Regions from separate parts of the Homo sapiens genome. Here all the other regions are linked to region 1. The links are contacts of gene promoters, found by promoter capture Hi-C in blood cells and fetal thymus (Javierre and others, 2016). All regions are on one chromosome and are shown on one strand. Each heading gives the region's core, a stretch centred on a gene start or on the middle of the fragment in contact. The rest is flanking DNA. Distances are from core to core; before and after follow the strand shown.

Evidence for each region. The method cuts DNA at HindIII sites, captures the fragments that hold promoters and counts their contacts. A CHiCAGO score of 5 or more calls a contact.
Region 2: a fragment that was not itself captured here is called in contact with the fragment with the promoter of SNHG25 in region 1 in 7 of 17 cell types (endothelial precursors, megakaryocytes, M2 macrophages and 4 more); the score reaches 11.4 in endothelial precursors.
Region 3: a contact is called between a fragment that was not itself captured here and the fragment with the promoter of SNHG25 in region 1, in 12 of 17 cell types (total B cells, naive CD8 T cells, naive CD4 T cells and 9 more). The highest score is 9.6, in total B cells.

What each region holds. Positions count from the first base shown.
Region 1 is chr17:64,143,702-64,148,460 of GRCh38, forward strand. It overlaps SNHG25 (small nucleolar RNA host gene 25), which reads left to right and starts at 2,269. Exons shown (of 2, transcript NR_132278.1): 1 at 2,269-2,299; 2 at 2,529-2,608. It overlaps SNORD104 (small nucleolar RNA, C/D box 104), which reads left to right and starts at 2,377; the gene lies at 2,377-2,456. It overlaps SNORA50C (small nucleolar RNA, H/ACA box 50C), which reads left to right and starts at 2,638; the gene lies at 2,638-2,770. TEX2 (testis expressed 2) reads right to left here. Exons shown (of 12, transcript NM_001288732.2): 12 at 3,526-4,759. RefSeq lists enhancers at 1,956-2,510, 2,488-2,697. The HindIII fragment of the contact is 1,672 bases long and covers 1,521-3,192 here.
Region 2 is chr17:64,304,323-64,308,937 of GRCh38, forward strand. It overlaps the pseudogene RPL31P57. Among named protein-coding and RNA genes, the nearest start is that of TEX2, 43 kb to the left of the region's middle. The HindIII fragment of the contact is 4,234 bases long and covers 946-4,615 here.
Region 3 is chr17:63,949,593-63,954,406 of GRCh38, forward strand. It overlaps SCN4A (sodium voltage-gated channel alpha subunit 4), which reads right to left. Exons shown (of 24, transcript NM_000334.4): 14 at 1,832-2,308. Among named protein-coding and RNA genes, the nearest start is that of CD79B, 20 kb to the left of the region's middle. RefSeq lists an insulator at 1-2,260, enhancers at 1-268, 1,370-1,429 and a silencer at 1,397-1,691. The HindIII fragment of the contact is 2,018 bases long and covers 1,008-3,025 here.

The sequences.
Region 1 (4,759 bases), core at 1,019-3,518:
TGAAACCCCGTCTCTACTAAAAATACAAAAATTAGCCGGGCATGGTGGTCCGTGCCTGTAGTCCCAGCACTAGGGAGGCTGAGGCAGCAGAGTCGCTTGAACCCGGGTGGCAGAGGTTGCAGTGAGCCAAGATAGTGCCACTGTACTCCAGCCTGGGCGACAGAGCCAGACTCTGTCTCAAAAAAGAAAAGAAAAGAAAAGAGAAGAGGAGAAGAAAAGAAAAGAGCAGGCCGGGCGCGGCGGCTCACGCCTGTAATCCCAGCACTTTGGGACGCTGAGGCGGGAGGATCATGAGGTCAGGAGTTTGAGACCAGCCTGGCCAATATGGTAAAACCCCATCTCTACTAAAAATACAAAAATTAGCCAGGCATGGTTGTGCATGCCTGTAATTCCAGCTACTGGGGAGGCTGACGCAGGAGAATTGCTTGAAGTCGGGAGGCGGAGGTTGCAGTAAGCCAAGATTGTGCCACCGCACTCCAGCCTGGGCAACAGAGTGAGACTGTCTCAAAAAACAAAACGAAACAAGTAATGGAGCAAAGCTTCTGTTGCTCCACATCCTCACTGGCATTTGGTATTTGAGGCATAATCTTAACACATCACAATCAAAGCCAACAGCCAACTTCCAAGCAAGTACATAATACACAAAGCAGAGCTGTGGACAATGTAATTACAACACAACTAAGGTTGAATTAATAAATAAATATTTTATACCATGTTTGTACTTGATAGTGAAAACATCTTCGTTTCAACAATCTGTGGAACACTTATAAAAACTGATATTTTAGGTCACAAAGAAAACTTTCATACATTGCCCAATGCGGAAACTGTACCATAATGTAATAAATGTTGAGATAACGAAAGTTAAAACAGCAACAAAAATAAATAGAGACTACTAAACACTTGTCAAAGTCATTATTGCTTTGGATTAAAGAGGTTTTTTTTTTTTTTTTTGAGATGGAGTCTCGCTCTGTTGCTCAGGTTAGAGTGTAATGGCGCGATCTCAGCTCATTGCAACCTCCGCCTCCCGGGTTCAAGCGATTCTCCTGCCTCAACCTCCTGAGTAGCTGGGATTACAGGGGCCTGCCACCACGCCCGGCTAATTTTTGTATTTTTAGTAGAGACAGGGTTTCGCCATGTTGGCCAGGCTGTTCTTGAACTCCTGACCTGATCCATCCGCCTCCGTCTCCCAGAGTGCTGGGATTACAGGCGTGAGCCACCGCGCCCGGCCAAAGAGGAATTTTTTGAATTTAAAGTCTATATAGAAAATAAGGAAAATAAGAGCCCATTCAACTACAAACCCATAGGGTGAAATGATTTCACTGTCACATACACACACACACACAAAACAATAAATTTTCCGTATTAAGAGGAAAAAAAGGAAAAGAATTCCCAAGGAAAACAGGGAGGCAATAAAGATAACCGGCGACTGTGACTGCTGGTGTACTGTGTCCTCCCCCAGTTAAGCAAACTATCATTCATCCACCTGTATGTCCGGGGAACAGGCTCAATCAACTCTGCGAAGCTTTCCCAAAGTCAGGCTTTCTGTCCTTTGGGCTTCTACAGTAGGCTGTTCATAGCGCTATGTTAGTATTTATTAAAGTTTTGCAATCCCAGGAAGTTTTTCACATCACTCTGCCCTTTAAATACCTTTGTTTACCACTTAGAATGTGCCAGGCAATTGGCATTAATTCACCGAATCCTTACAATTTTTTTTTTTCGCGGTGTGTGTGTGTTGGGGGGGGGCGGCGGGGGGGTATTCCTAATTTCCAGAAACTGAATCTCAGAAAGGTTAACTGAGCAAGGTCACAGAGCGAACGCATCACAAAGTCAGGATGTGGTGCAGATCGGTCCATTTTCAATACAAGCTCTTTCTACCACGACAGGTTATTTTGCACTTGGGGACAGTTTTTAACTTTCCATTCTCAACTCCTATCCTAGCTCCTGGCACAGAACATGTCATCCAAGTTAGGCATCATCGTCGCCTGCTCTTGGTGAAGTTTTCTTTTGCGTACTGCGGAGAGATGCGCTCATTACCAGCTGGCGGTGGAGTCGCTGAAACGCAAATGGATTTGAGACTGAGCGACTCCCATCTCTATGGTTGGTATGTGACCCATCTATCCTCTGGAGGACTCAGCAAGGACTACCAGTCACCAGACAACTTTACGCGCACGTGGTCGCAAGGTGAACTTGCTATTGGTTAATGGCAGTAAAGCCCGCCCATCAGCGCTGGTCTGCTCCTTTAAAAGAACGCCATCGACGCTCCCCTGTCTTTCAGCGCCTGCAGGTTCCGGGAGGTCAGGTTGTATTCCTGGCGGGTCGTCTGGCTGGGTGGGCCCCGGAGGTCGTGGCTCGGGAGCAGGGAGGCGTAGGGGGGCCGGCCTGCTGTGATGACATTCCAATTAAAGCACGTGTTAGACTGCTGACGCGGGTGATGCGAACTGGAGTCTGAGCCTGCCCGAGCGGAGCTGGGAGGGGGCTGGCGGGCGGGCGCGCGCACACCCGCTGATCTATCACTCTCGTTCTTGTAGCTCCCAGCCGAGGACGTCGGATGTCATCGTCCTTGCTGCTTTGCCACCCCATTCCCGTCAATAAAGTGGTTTGAACCCAACCCTGGTGTCGGTGTGTGTCGTTGGCGACGCGCTGTCTTTGAGCCCCCGCCGAGCTTCCTCGTGGCGCCGGGGGTCAATCTGCAGCGCTAGAGCATGTGCTTGCGCATAACTGGGGCCGCCTGGCCTCCCGCGGGCGGCCTTTTTAACCGCGAGCGACAAGAAGTAACCTGACTGTCCGGCTGCTAGGCTGGGCAATTTTCCAGCTGTTTTGCCACGACAGGCCTCAATCCGTAATACCAAGGCTGGAATGGCGTGTTAGGGGGGCGGTGGCTGACGGGGATACGCGGACTCTTGATGCGTAAGGAGTGCCCCTCTGCTCCCATACGTTCCCCAGCCCAGCCTTCCCTGAGTGTATCGCGCGCGCTGTGCCTTCGCCGTGAGTTCGACATAAGTCCCAGGCTGTCGCGTCTGCCATCAGACGCGCAGATTTAGTTGAAGGCAGCGTGGAATGGCGTCTGCAGGGCTGTTGTGTACTTGACATAAACAGATTCGGTGTGGAACTGCATTGAGTTAACTCCTGACTAAAGGGTAATCGACCTGTTTACAAATAACCATGCAGGAGTACTGACAAGCATGGGACTAAAGCTTTGGGCAGGTTAATCTGTCACTCCTAAACAGTTCAAAATTATAGGGCGGTTGTGAAGGTGAATTAGATTTTATATATGGTTGGGGACAACATAGACACCTAGTTACACAGTCCAGATTCAGTGATTGGTAAAAGATCTTCCACAAGGGCTCCAGTGAAAGGTGCATCAGTTCTGAGTACAGGGCAGCAATGGTGGGCAAGGATGCACGTATGCGTTCACTACATGGACATTCGATGAATGAAGGTGTCCCGAATTAACATTATACTAGACAATGAAGGGTGTAAACTGCAGCCCAGGAGCACCACTGCCCTACCCCCTCAGTTACGAACTTTCACTGGATTCTTTAAATGTGGGCTGAAGATAATGGCACATAGTTTGAAGGATGTAGTGAGGATGGCTTTGTAGCCTTAGGACTGGGCAGTGATCAACGCAGTAAATGAAAGCTGCGATTGCCAGGTGAGGGCCCCGGTGCTCTGTACTCATTTTATTGTGCCCCTATCTGAACAGGATTCCGTAGAAATGACTTAGATGCTTATCTAGTATTTGACATTGAGATATTTATTTTGTGAAACAATGCAAGCGATTTTAAATCCCCACATACTATTTGATTAAGTGCAACATGGTACAGTCATGTGTAATCTCTTTACACGATAGTGCATCTAGTCCTTAGCCTTTAGTTATTGCACAACAATTATAAAGACCAGTGACCAGGACACGTGGACTCTGACAGGCAGATCGGCCTACACAACGAAAAATCAGAACAGTACACCAACTGGAATGGTCAAACAATTTAAGTCAAATGTTTTAATGGTGCAATTAAAATAAGGGTTCAAACATGTTTTCAATATATTAATTTCTTTAAAGTCATGTTCAGGCAAGGTGCTGTTTAAAAAACCACTATTAGCTTTGTCCACACATGTAAGTTATCAAAAGTTACCCAAGGTAATTTTGACGTTGAATGCAGCTTTAAACAATAAAAAAATGGTATTAGGTTTACTTCTCGAAGCAAAGAGAGCCCCCAACCTTGTAAACTAAACATTCTGACACAAATGCACAAAATTAAGTTGGCAACATTAATTTTGAGATGTAGTGTGATGCTGAGCAAACTTTTGGTCTTGACTCTTGAAATAATTAAAGAGAGCAGTTCTCCGTTTTGGCCTTCAGGAAGGGAAATCTGCCCATGGAACTCTCCCAATCAGATTAACAAACTGTTTCGATTCCCATATAAACCTGGAGGACACAGGAAACGCCAGATGGAAAAACTGGCTCTGGCTTTCTAACCCCATCCCATCTGTATGAGAGGACCCATCCTGTCATGTGCAGTGTTTGATGTTTTCACATACGCTCCTGTCTCAGGAAAACATTCAAGATTAGCTAGCCCCCAGGTGGTTGTACCTCATTGGTGAAAGGCTTGGGATGGTTTGATCTCATGGCTTTGCCTGATGTTCACATAAATCCCACTGTCCTTACCCAAGCTGATAGCGTGTTGTGTGTGTACTATGGCTACTTGCTTCCCAAATGCACAATTTAATGTGGAAAATAAGTTGCTCTGCCCATCTCTTC
Region 2 (4,615 bases), core at 1,813-4,312, 160 kb after region 1:
CTGAGGCGGGTGAATCACCTGAAGTCGGGAGTTCGAGACCAGCCTGGTCAACATGGTGAAACCTCGTCTCTACTAAAAATACAAAAATTAGCCAGGCTTGGTGGCTCAAGCCTGTAATCCTAGCTACTCGGGAGGCTGAGGCAGGGGAACCATTTGAACCCAGGAGGCGGAGGTTGCAGTGAGCCGAAATCGTGCCACTGCACTCCAGCCTGTGTGACAGTGCGAGACTCCTTCTCAAAAAAAAAAAAAAAGAAAAAAAATTACCTTTTATTTGAGACAGGGTCTTGAACTCCTGGGCTCAGTGATTGTCCTGCCTCAGCCTCCCAAGCATCTGGGATTATAGGCAAATGCCAGCACACCCGGCCCTTTCTGTTTTTAAACAGGTGTCTGATTTCCCACCTCCATTCCTTCCACAGCCCAGAGAGGTAGGACATCAACTCTTCAGTTTTCTATCTACTCACAGGTTTGATCTTTAACCTCTCAAGAACAATAAGCCAGAGAAACAGAGATAAGCGTTGAGTTGGGATTCAAGTTTACTTCAGCTGTTTCTGCCTGATCCACACATCCTAGGGCTCCTTCTTAAGTAGTTCCTTGCAACTTAAAGTGTATCCAAAAGTGATACTCCCTTCTTTTTTTTTGAGACTGAGTCTTGCTCTGTCGCCCAGGCTGGAGTGCAGTGGTGTGATCTCGGCTCACTGCAACCTCCGCCTCCTGGGTTCAAGCGATTCTCATGCCTCAGCCTCTTGAGTAGCTGGGATTACAGGTGCCCACCACCATACTCTGCTAATTTTTGTATTTTTAGTAGAGATGGGGTTTCACCATGTTGGCCAGGCTGGTCTCCAACTCCTGACCTTAGGTAATCCGCCTGCCTCAGCCTCCCAAAGTGTTGGGATCACAGGTGTGAGCCACTGTGCCCGCCTCCTTTTTTTAATTTTGAAAATTTCAAGCTTTCAGAAAAGTTACAAGAAATAGTACAATGAACACTTGTATATCCTTCACCTAGATTCATTTGTTGCTAGCATTTTGCCCATTTGCTTTATCTCTCCTCCTCTGTGTTTGTACACACACACATACACACACACACGCAAACATTTTTTAAAAATTATTTTAATTTTTGGCTGGGTGTGGTGGCTCATGGCTATAATTCCAACACTTTGGGAGCCCAAGGTAGGCAGATCACTTGAGGCCAGGAGTTCGAGACCAGCCTGGGCAGCCTGGGCGAAACCCTGTCTCTATAAAAAATACAAAAAGTAGCCAGGCATGGTGGTATGTGCCTGTGGACCCGCTACTCAGGAGGCTGAGGTGGGAGTATCACTTGAGCCAGGGAGGTTGAAATTGCAGTGAGCCAAGATCTCACCACTGTGCTCCAGCCTGGGCAACAGAGTGAGATCCTGTCTCAAAAAAATTATTCTGGCCAGCCACGATGGCTCACGCCTATAATCCCAGCACTTTGGGAGGCCGAGGCAGGTGGATCACTTGAGGTCAGGAGTTCAAGACCAGCCTGACCAACACGGTGAAACCCCGTCTCTACTAAAAATACAAATTTAGCCAGGCATGGTGGTGCGCGCCTGTAATCCCAGCTACTCGGGAGGCTGAGGCAGGAGAATTGCTTGAACCCAGGAGGCGGACGTTGCAGTGAGCCGAGAACACACCACTGCACTCCAGCCTGGGCAACAGAGTGAGACTTCCTCTCAAAAAAAAAAATTATTTCAATGTTTGCTAAATATTTTGAAAGTTAGTTGCAGGCATCATATTTCTAATATTACTTCACCATGTATCCCCTAAGAATGAGGACATTCTATATAATTACAGTATATTACCATGCTTGAGAAATTTAACATTAGGCTAAGCACAGTGGCTCATGCCTGTAATCCCAGCACTATGGGAGGCTGAGGCAGGTGGATCACTTGAACCCAGGAGTTTGAGACCAGCCTGGGCAATATGGCGAAATTTTGTCTGTACAAAACTTACAAAAAATTAGCCAGACATGGTGACGCACACCTGTGGTCCCAGCTACTCGGAGGCTGAGGTGGAAAGATTGCTTGAGCCCAGGAGGTTGAGGCTGCGGTGAGCCACCATCATGCCACTGCACTCCAGCCTGGATGACAGAGCAAGACACTGTTTCAAAAAAAAAGAAAGAAAGAAATTTAACATTAATACTATATTGTGATATATATTCCATATTCAATTTTCCCAATTGGCCCAATTATGTACTTGACTAGCTTTTTTTTTTTTTTTTTTTTTGAGATGGAGTCTCGCTCTGTTGCCCAGGCTAGAGTGCAGTGGCACGATCTTGGCTCACTGCAATCTCTGCCTCCTGGGTTCAAGCAATTCTCCTGCCTTAGTCTCCCGAGTAGCTGGGATTACAGGCGCCTGTCACCATGCCTGGCTAATTTTTGTATTTTTAATAGAGACAGGGTTTCACCATGTTGGTCAGACTGGTCTCAAACTCCTGACCTCAGGTGATCCACCCACCTTGGCCTCCCAAAGTGCTGGGATTACAGACATGAGCCACCGTGCCTGCCCTTGAATAGCTTTTTGAACAGATTGCATTTAGCGGTTCAGACCCTTTGGTCTCTTTTAATCTAGAGCAGTTTTTCAGACCATTTTGATCTTTTCTGACATGGATATTTTTGAAAAGTCCAAGCCAATTGTGTTAAAACTATAATTACTTTATGCTATTTGAATTCTACACGTGATCTTGGTCCTAGAGTGTAAATTTTATCTGTGCTGCCACCAGGTGGCGCACTTGGTAGGTCCTGGTCCTCAAAAACCCTTGTGAAAGGGCAACTTAAGGCAAGAAAACTCGTTTTGTCTCAATCAACTAAGGCTGTTATTTGGTAAAGCATATGATGTTGGCAGTGCCCATATATTTATAAAGGCACGTGGTGTCTTTTCCATAATCTGGGGATCTTGCTAATTAGGATTATAGTTTCGTAGACCTGTAATGGGTCCCAAGATTCTTTCTTTTTTTTTTTTTTTGAGACAGGGTCTCACTCTGCCAGCCAGGCTGGAGTGCTGTGGCGTGATCACGGCTGACTGCAGCCTCAAACTCCTGCGCTCAAGCGATCCTCCCACCTCAGCCTCCCAAAGTGCTGGTATTACAGGCATGAGCCGTTGTCCTGGCCAAGGTTCTGCATTTCTAACAATGGCCAAGTGATTGTGATGCTGCTGATTTGAAGAGCACGCTTTGAGTAGCAGGGGTTTAGAACAAGCCTATGAAGAACTATAATCTATTTACAATTAGTGGCTTCTGTTCTTGAGACAAAATCTCACTCTGTTGCCCAGGCTGGAGTGCAGTGGAGCCATCACGGCTCACTGCAGCCTTGACCCCTGAGGCTCAGGTGATCCCCCTGCTTCAGCCTCCTGAGTAGCTGGGATCACAAGCATGCACCACTCCACCTGGCTAATTTAAAACATTTTTTTGGAGACAGGATCTCTGTATGTTCCCCAGGCTGGTCTCGAACTCCTGGGCTCAAGGGATCCTCCCATCTTGCCCTCCCAAAGCGCCTTGACCTCCCAAAGTGCTGGGATTACAGGCATGAGCCATCATGCCTGGCCACTATTATATATATATATATATATATATATATATATATATATATATATATATATATATATATTTAAACAATTTTGGCCCCCACAGTGGCTCATGCCTCTAATCCCAGCGCTTTAGGAGGTCAAGGCGGACAGATCACTTGAGGTCAGGAGTTTGAGGCCAGCCTGGCCAACGTGCTGAAACCCCATCTGTACTAAAGATACCAAAATTAGCTGGGCATGGTGGTGCATGCCTGCAGTCCCAGCTACAAGGGAGGCTGAGGTAGGAGAATTGCTTGAACCCGGGAGGTGGGGGTTGCAGTGAGCCAAAATCACGCCACTGTGGTCCAGCCTGGGTGACAGAGCAAGATTCTATCCCACCCCCCCAAAAAACAAACAAACAAACAAACAAAAAACAATTTTATAACTTTATTTGGTATATTTGATGATTAGCAGTTAGTTCACATTCACACCGACTGTAGATTTTTTTAAAGTGGTAACAGGTACGTAGGCAACCGAAGTATAGAGCTTGTTTGGTAAATCTTTATCTTCATTACATTTTCTGGACAACCGAACATGGATACAGTATGAGACGTTGCTTATTCCTTTGGCCCAGACAGCTTTGTTGAGCCTGGTATCAAAGTGTGCATCTGGAGTTCCCATCTCCTTCAGGGCAAGTTTCCGGAGCTCTTTGAGTGCCTGAGGGGAACGCTTCTTGAAGCCCACTCCATGAATGCACTTATGAATGTTGATGGGGTATTCTCGGGTCACCATCTCGTTGATGGCGGAATGACCCTTCTTCTTCTCATCACCCTTCTTTGCAGGAGCCATTCTGCCGGGCCCAAGTTGGAAAGGAAATTGGCCACTATTCTTACATCATAATCAGTAGTAAAGCTAGTCTCATCTTCCACTACTTCCCCTCTTCCTCCCTCTACTCCAGCCCCTTGGCCTTGCTTCTTTCCCAGAGGGCCTCGACCCTAGCTTTCCCTTCTGCCTCGCATGCCATTCCCCCAGATATCCTTCTGCTTGACTAATTTCCTTGTCTCCTGCAAGTTCTTAGCTCAAACCTTTCTTTTTT
Region 3 (4,814 bases), core at 767-3,266, 190 kb before region 1:
ATGGGGCAGGATGGGAGACCAGAAGGGAAGGGAAGAAGAGAGGGAGGAGCAAACTCATCCATTCATTCATTCATCCAGCCCTGGATGGTCGAGGAACCACGGGGACGTAGGTGGCCCTGGTCATGCCCGCATGACACTTATATAAGGAGTGGGGCGGGGCTGATGCCTGGGAAGGGACGGTAAGGGCATGAGGACACATGCGAAGGCCTCAGATAAGGGAGGAGGCGGGGACCCCGGCCCGAGTGGGGGGTCTGGGAGGCATGGGGGGCCTGAAGGTAGCTCTGAGGGGGCAGGGGTATGAAAAGGGGTCAGGATGGAGCCAGGCTATCACAGCCCTCAGAACATGGGCGTGTGGTGCCCCTAGCGTCTGAGCCTTCCCACCCGCAGGGTCTGTTTGGCTGAGGAATCCAGAAAGGGTGGAAAATGTTCCCCAGCCAAAGCCTCCATCCAGTGCCAAGGGAACCTGATCAGTGTTGGGAGCGGGAGTGGGGGAGGCGGGTGCTCCAGCCGGGCCAGGCTTCCTCCCACCTCCTCCTGCTGGGCCAGGCCAGCTTCCCGGCCCCAGACTCCACCCGGCAGGGGACCCCTTCAAGGCTGAGGGTGAGGCCTCTGAAGAGAAGGAAGAAGAGGGCAACTTGGGGGGCAGCTCTGTATCCAGAGTGGTGACCAGAAAACCACCATGGCCGGGGTGGGGGTCCTTGTTTTCATTAGACTAAAAGGGAAACTGAGGCACAGAGTGTTAGGTCAGCCAGGGCATCCACTGAGTTGCTTGCCCCGATTGTGCACTCAACTCCCTAAATCTCCCTTGGAGTTGTGCTCGCCCTCCTTGAACAAGTCCCCAGGCCCCGGCCCCGGCCCCGGGGAGCCTGGGACTTTGGTGCTCTCCAGCTCCCCCGCCACCTGAGTGCCTCATACCGAGGTCTGTGCCACAGTTGCCTGGGTATTTATAGCTCACAGGCACTCGCTTCCTGGTAAGCCAGCATATTTGGGGGGAATAAGGAGTCAAAAGCTTTCAGGGCAAAGTTCATTAGGCTCAGGCTGATGGTGCAGGGGTGGGCAGGGGCCCTCGTCCTAGCTCCTGTATGAGTCCTTTCCCTGCCAGAGCTGGACAGTGGGGAAGGGGGCTCAAGACCCAGGCAGGGTCAGCCTCAGCCTCAGCCTCAGCTGCTGGGGGTTACCACCGCTGCGTTCCTGTCCCTTCCTCGACCTCGCAGTGGAGGGGTGGGGAGGGGCATCTGAGCCCAGCAGCACACCCCCTGCATGGCTGAGGGGTCAGGGCTCCTGCCTGAGGCTTCTGTCCTCCTTGTCCTCAACTCCCGTTGGCCCCTAGCTCCTCTCCTGAATCCCCTGCCTGGATCTGGCACTTTGGCCCACACTGGGAGGTTGGGAGCAGACCCAGGTGGGGTCTAAACAGAGATAGAGGATAAGTGTGAGGACTGGGCAAGGGGCCTCAAACCCAGAGGAGAATATGTAAGAGAGGCCTCTCAGGTCCTGGTCCTGGAGCTGCGGTGCCCAGGTAAAAGCAGCATGTCCAAGGGCACCACCTGCTGGTGAGAGGGGCCCAGGTGTTCTGGTCCGAGGGAATCAGGGTTTCTGGACAGACAGGGTTGATCATAATAACCACATCAATAACGATAGTGACTGCCACCACTCACAGGGCGCGGACTGCATGCTTTACATACAGCGTCTCACATAATGCTTGCAACAATGCCATAGGGCACCACCCCCATTTTACAGCTGGAGAAACTGAGGCTCAGAGAGGACTTAGGGCTTGCTCCAGGTCACAGGAGAATTTGAAGCCGGGTCTGTCTGAGCCCCAGCCCCGGCTCACCTTGCTATCCTCAGGCTCTGAGAAAGTGTCGGTTTCCTCCTCGGTGGGCATCTCCAGGTCGGACTCCTCGGAGGCGATGGGCACCTGTATGGTCAGGTAGGGGTTGTTGATGAAGTTAAGGTGGTCCAGCTCGAGGCTGGATGGGGGGCCGTCAGCCAGGCCCATGTGGTTCAGGATGTGATTGTCCTTCTTCAGGTCCTCCTCGGGCGGCTCCTTCTTCTCATCCTCGGGGGCAGTCTCCCCCGCCTCTCCAGCCTCCCCGGCCCCGTCAGCCTCCCCGAGGCTGAGCATGATGTCCTTGGGGCTCAGGATCTTGCCATGCAGCAGCCCCAGGAGGAAGGCCTTGGCAAAGCCGATGCCCAACTTGATGCGCCCGATGGCAATCTGCAGGTTGTTCATCTCGCCATCCTCATCCGAGGCTGCCAGACTGTCGGCGCTGAAGGAGCTCAGCAGCAGAGCCAGGAACAGGTTCAGGACCTGGGGCATGGGGTCAGGGGGAGCCTCACATCAGTCCCCGGGACCCAGAGGGTGCCACCTTCAGCCAGCACAGGGGTCCTCGGTCTACAGATCCAAACTACCACATGTTGGGCATTTAAAAGAACGCCACCTAAGAGGTGTTCACAACTGCTCATGGAGGTGATGGTTATTATCCCTTCTGCAGATGGGGAAACTGAGGCTTGGGCTTCTGAGAGGACTCTGCTACCCAGGGCAGAGGCAGGGTTTAGGGAGGCCTGCTGGGGGACAGGAACTCTCTCCATGACTGTCCTTTTTTTTCTTTTTTTTTTTTCGAGATGGAGGAGTCTCCCTCTGTTGCCTCCAGACTCCGGGCTGGAGTGCTGTGGCGCGATTTCGGCTCACGGCAACCTCCACCTCCCAAGTTCAAGTGCCACCATGCCCAGCTAATCTTTGTATTTTTTGTAGAGACGGGGTTTCAACATGTTGCCCAGGCTGGTCTCAAACTCCTGACCTCAAGTGATCCGCCTGCCTCGGCCTCCCAAAGTGCTGGGATTAGAGGCATCACCACGGTGCCTGGCCCATGACTGTCCTTTACCTCCACTTCTGGAGGATGCGGAACAAAGAACTGGGCTCAAGTCGCCGAGCTTCCAGGACTTACTGGGAACCTTTATCTTTTGTGCCTTCTTCTCCACCTCTGTTAAGTGGGACTTTATAGACCCCGCACTCCTGGAGTGCAGAAGCTTGGCCCCTGCTACTCTGGAAGGGACATCTGACCTACTATTTACCCTCTTTTCTCCTCTTGGGGTTTCCGACTCCATCTATTCTGGTTCTTGTCCCACATCCCTACGGAAAGACTTAGGAGGCTACTGCTGCTCCCCCCCAGCACCCCCACCCACTTTATTTTCCAGTGGATAGACATTTCCTGAGCCCCCGTCACTGCATGAATGGCCTCAGGGAGCTCACAGACCAGCAGAGACAGAGAGCAGATCAATCACATGCAATACTGTGGGTTTGGGTGGCAGCAGAGACTGGAGTGCACAGCTTTTGAAACCACATTGCAGGGCTCTGAACCCCAGTTTATTAGCTGTGTGCTCTGAGGCAATTTGCCTCACTGCCCTGTGCCTCAGTTTCCTCATCTGTAAAAAGGAGATTATCCAAGTGTTCCTCCCATTGTTGTGAGGATTAAAGGATCAATAAAAGCCCAGGCGCAGTGGCTCACACCTATAATCCCAGCACTTTGGGAGGCTGGGGCAGGCGGATCACGAGGTCAGGAGATCAAGACAATCCTGGCTAACATGGTGAAACCCCGTCTCTACTAAAAATACAAAAAGTTAGCTGGGCGTGGTGGCATGCGCCTGTAGTCCTAACTACTTGGGAGGCTGAGGCAGGAGAATCGCTTGAACCCGGGAGGTGGAGGTTGCAGTGAGTCGAGATCACGCCATTGCACTCCAGCCGGGGCGACAGAGCGAGACTCCATCTCAAAACAAAACAAAACAAAAAAACAAAAAACAAACAAAAAACCCATCAATACAAGTAGAGCACACAGTAGGCACTCAACGCATGTTGGCTGTTATTATGTTTGAAATAATAGAAAGCTATACAAGGTGCTCCAGCCTGGCCAACATGGTGAAACCATGTACTAAAAATACAAAAATTAGCTGGGCGTGGTGGTGCACCTATAATCCCAGCTACTTGGGAGGCTGAGGCAGGAGAATCACTTGAACCCGGGAGGCGGAGGTTGCAGTGAGCCCAGATTGCACCCACTGCACTCCAGCCTGGGTGACAGTGCGAGACCCTGCCTTGAAGAAAAAAAAAAAAAGAAAAAGAAAAAGAAAGAAAGAAAGAAAGTTATACAAGGTGTAGGAAGAGTGTGGTGAACTCTGAGGCCAGCTCAGCATTTTATAGATGAGTAAACTGAGTCCTAGAGAGGTGGCGTGGCCTGCTCTAGGACACAGAGCATAGCCAGGACTCGAACCAGGATTCTAGTCATTGTATAACTTTAGAAGGCATCTTTCACTTAGCCTACAAGGTGAATGGCAGCCCTGAAGGTCTTTAATGTGGTCACCCTTCCTTCTACCAGTCTGCCTGGCCCTGGGCAGTGGGAGGAAGGAGAATCCTGGCTGGGGTGAGGGTCCCAGCTCCCATCAGCCAGAAGCATAGCCAGGTTCTTCCTCGGAGCCCTGGGGGAGTGAGAGGGCATGGGGAATTGGGGAGCCTGCACTTGCAGATCCGCCACCCTTGGCCGTCTCCTCGGCGGGTCTCACTCCTGGCTCTCACCAGCCTCCTCCAAGGTCTTCTCGTCATTGTCTTCACTACATTCTGTTGATTATATTCTGTTAATCATGTTAAATACTCTCTTTAAAAACTATCTGAAAACGCTCTTTGAGAGAATGTGCTAGGGGAATTTCCATGGCTCCCTTCCTCCCCGCCATGTCCCCTAGAGGCTTTTCTGCCTTTGCCCCCCACCAAAACGCATTAGTCTTTCTTCTCCCTCTCTGGGGGGAGGCATCCAGTTGCCAGAAACACA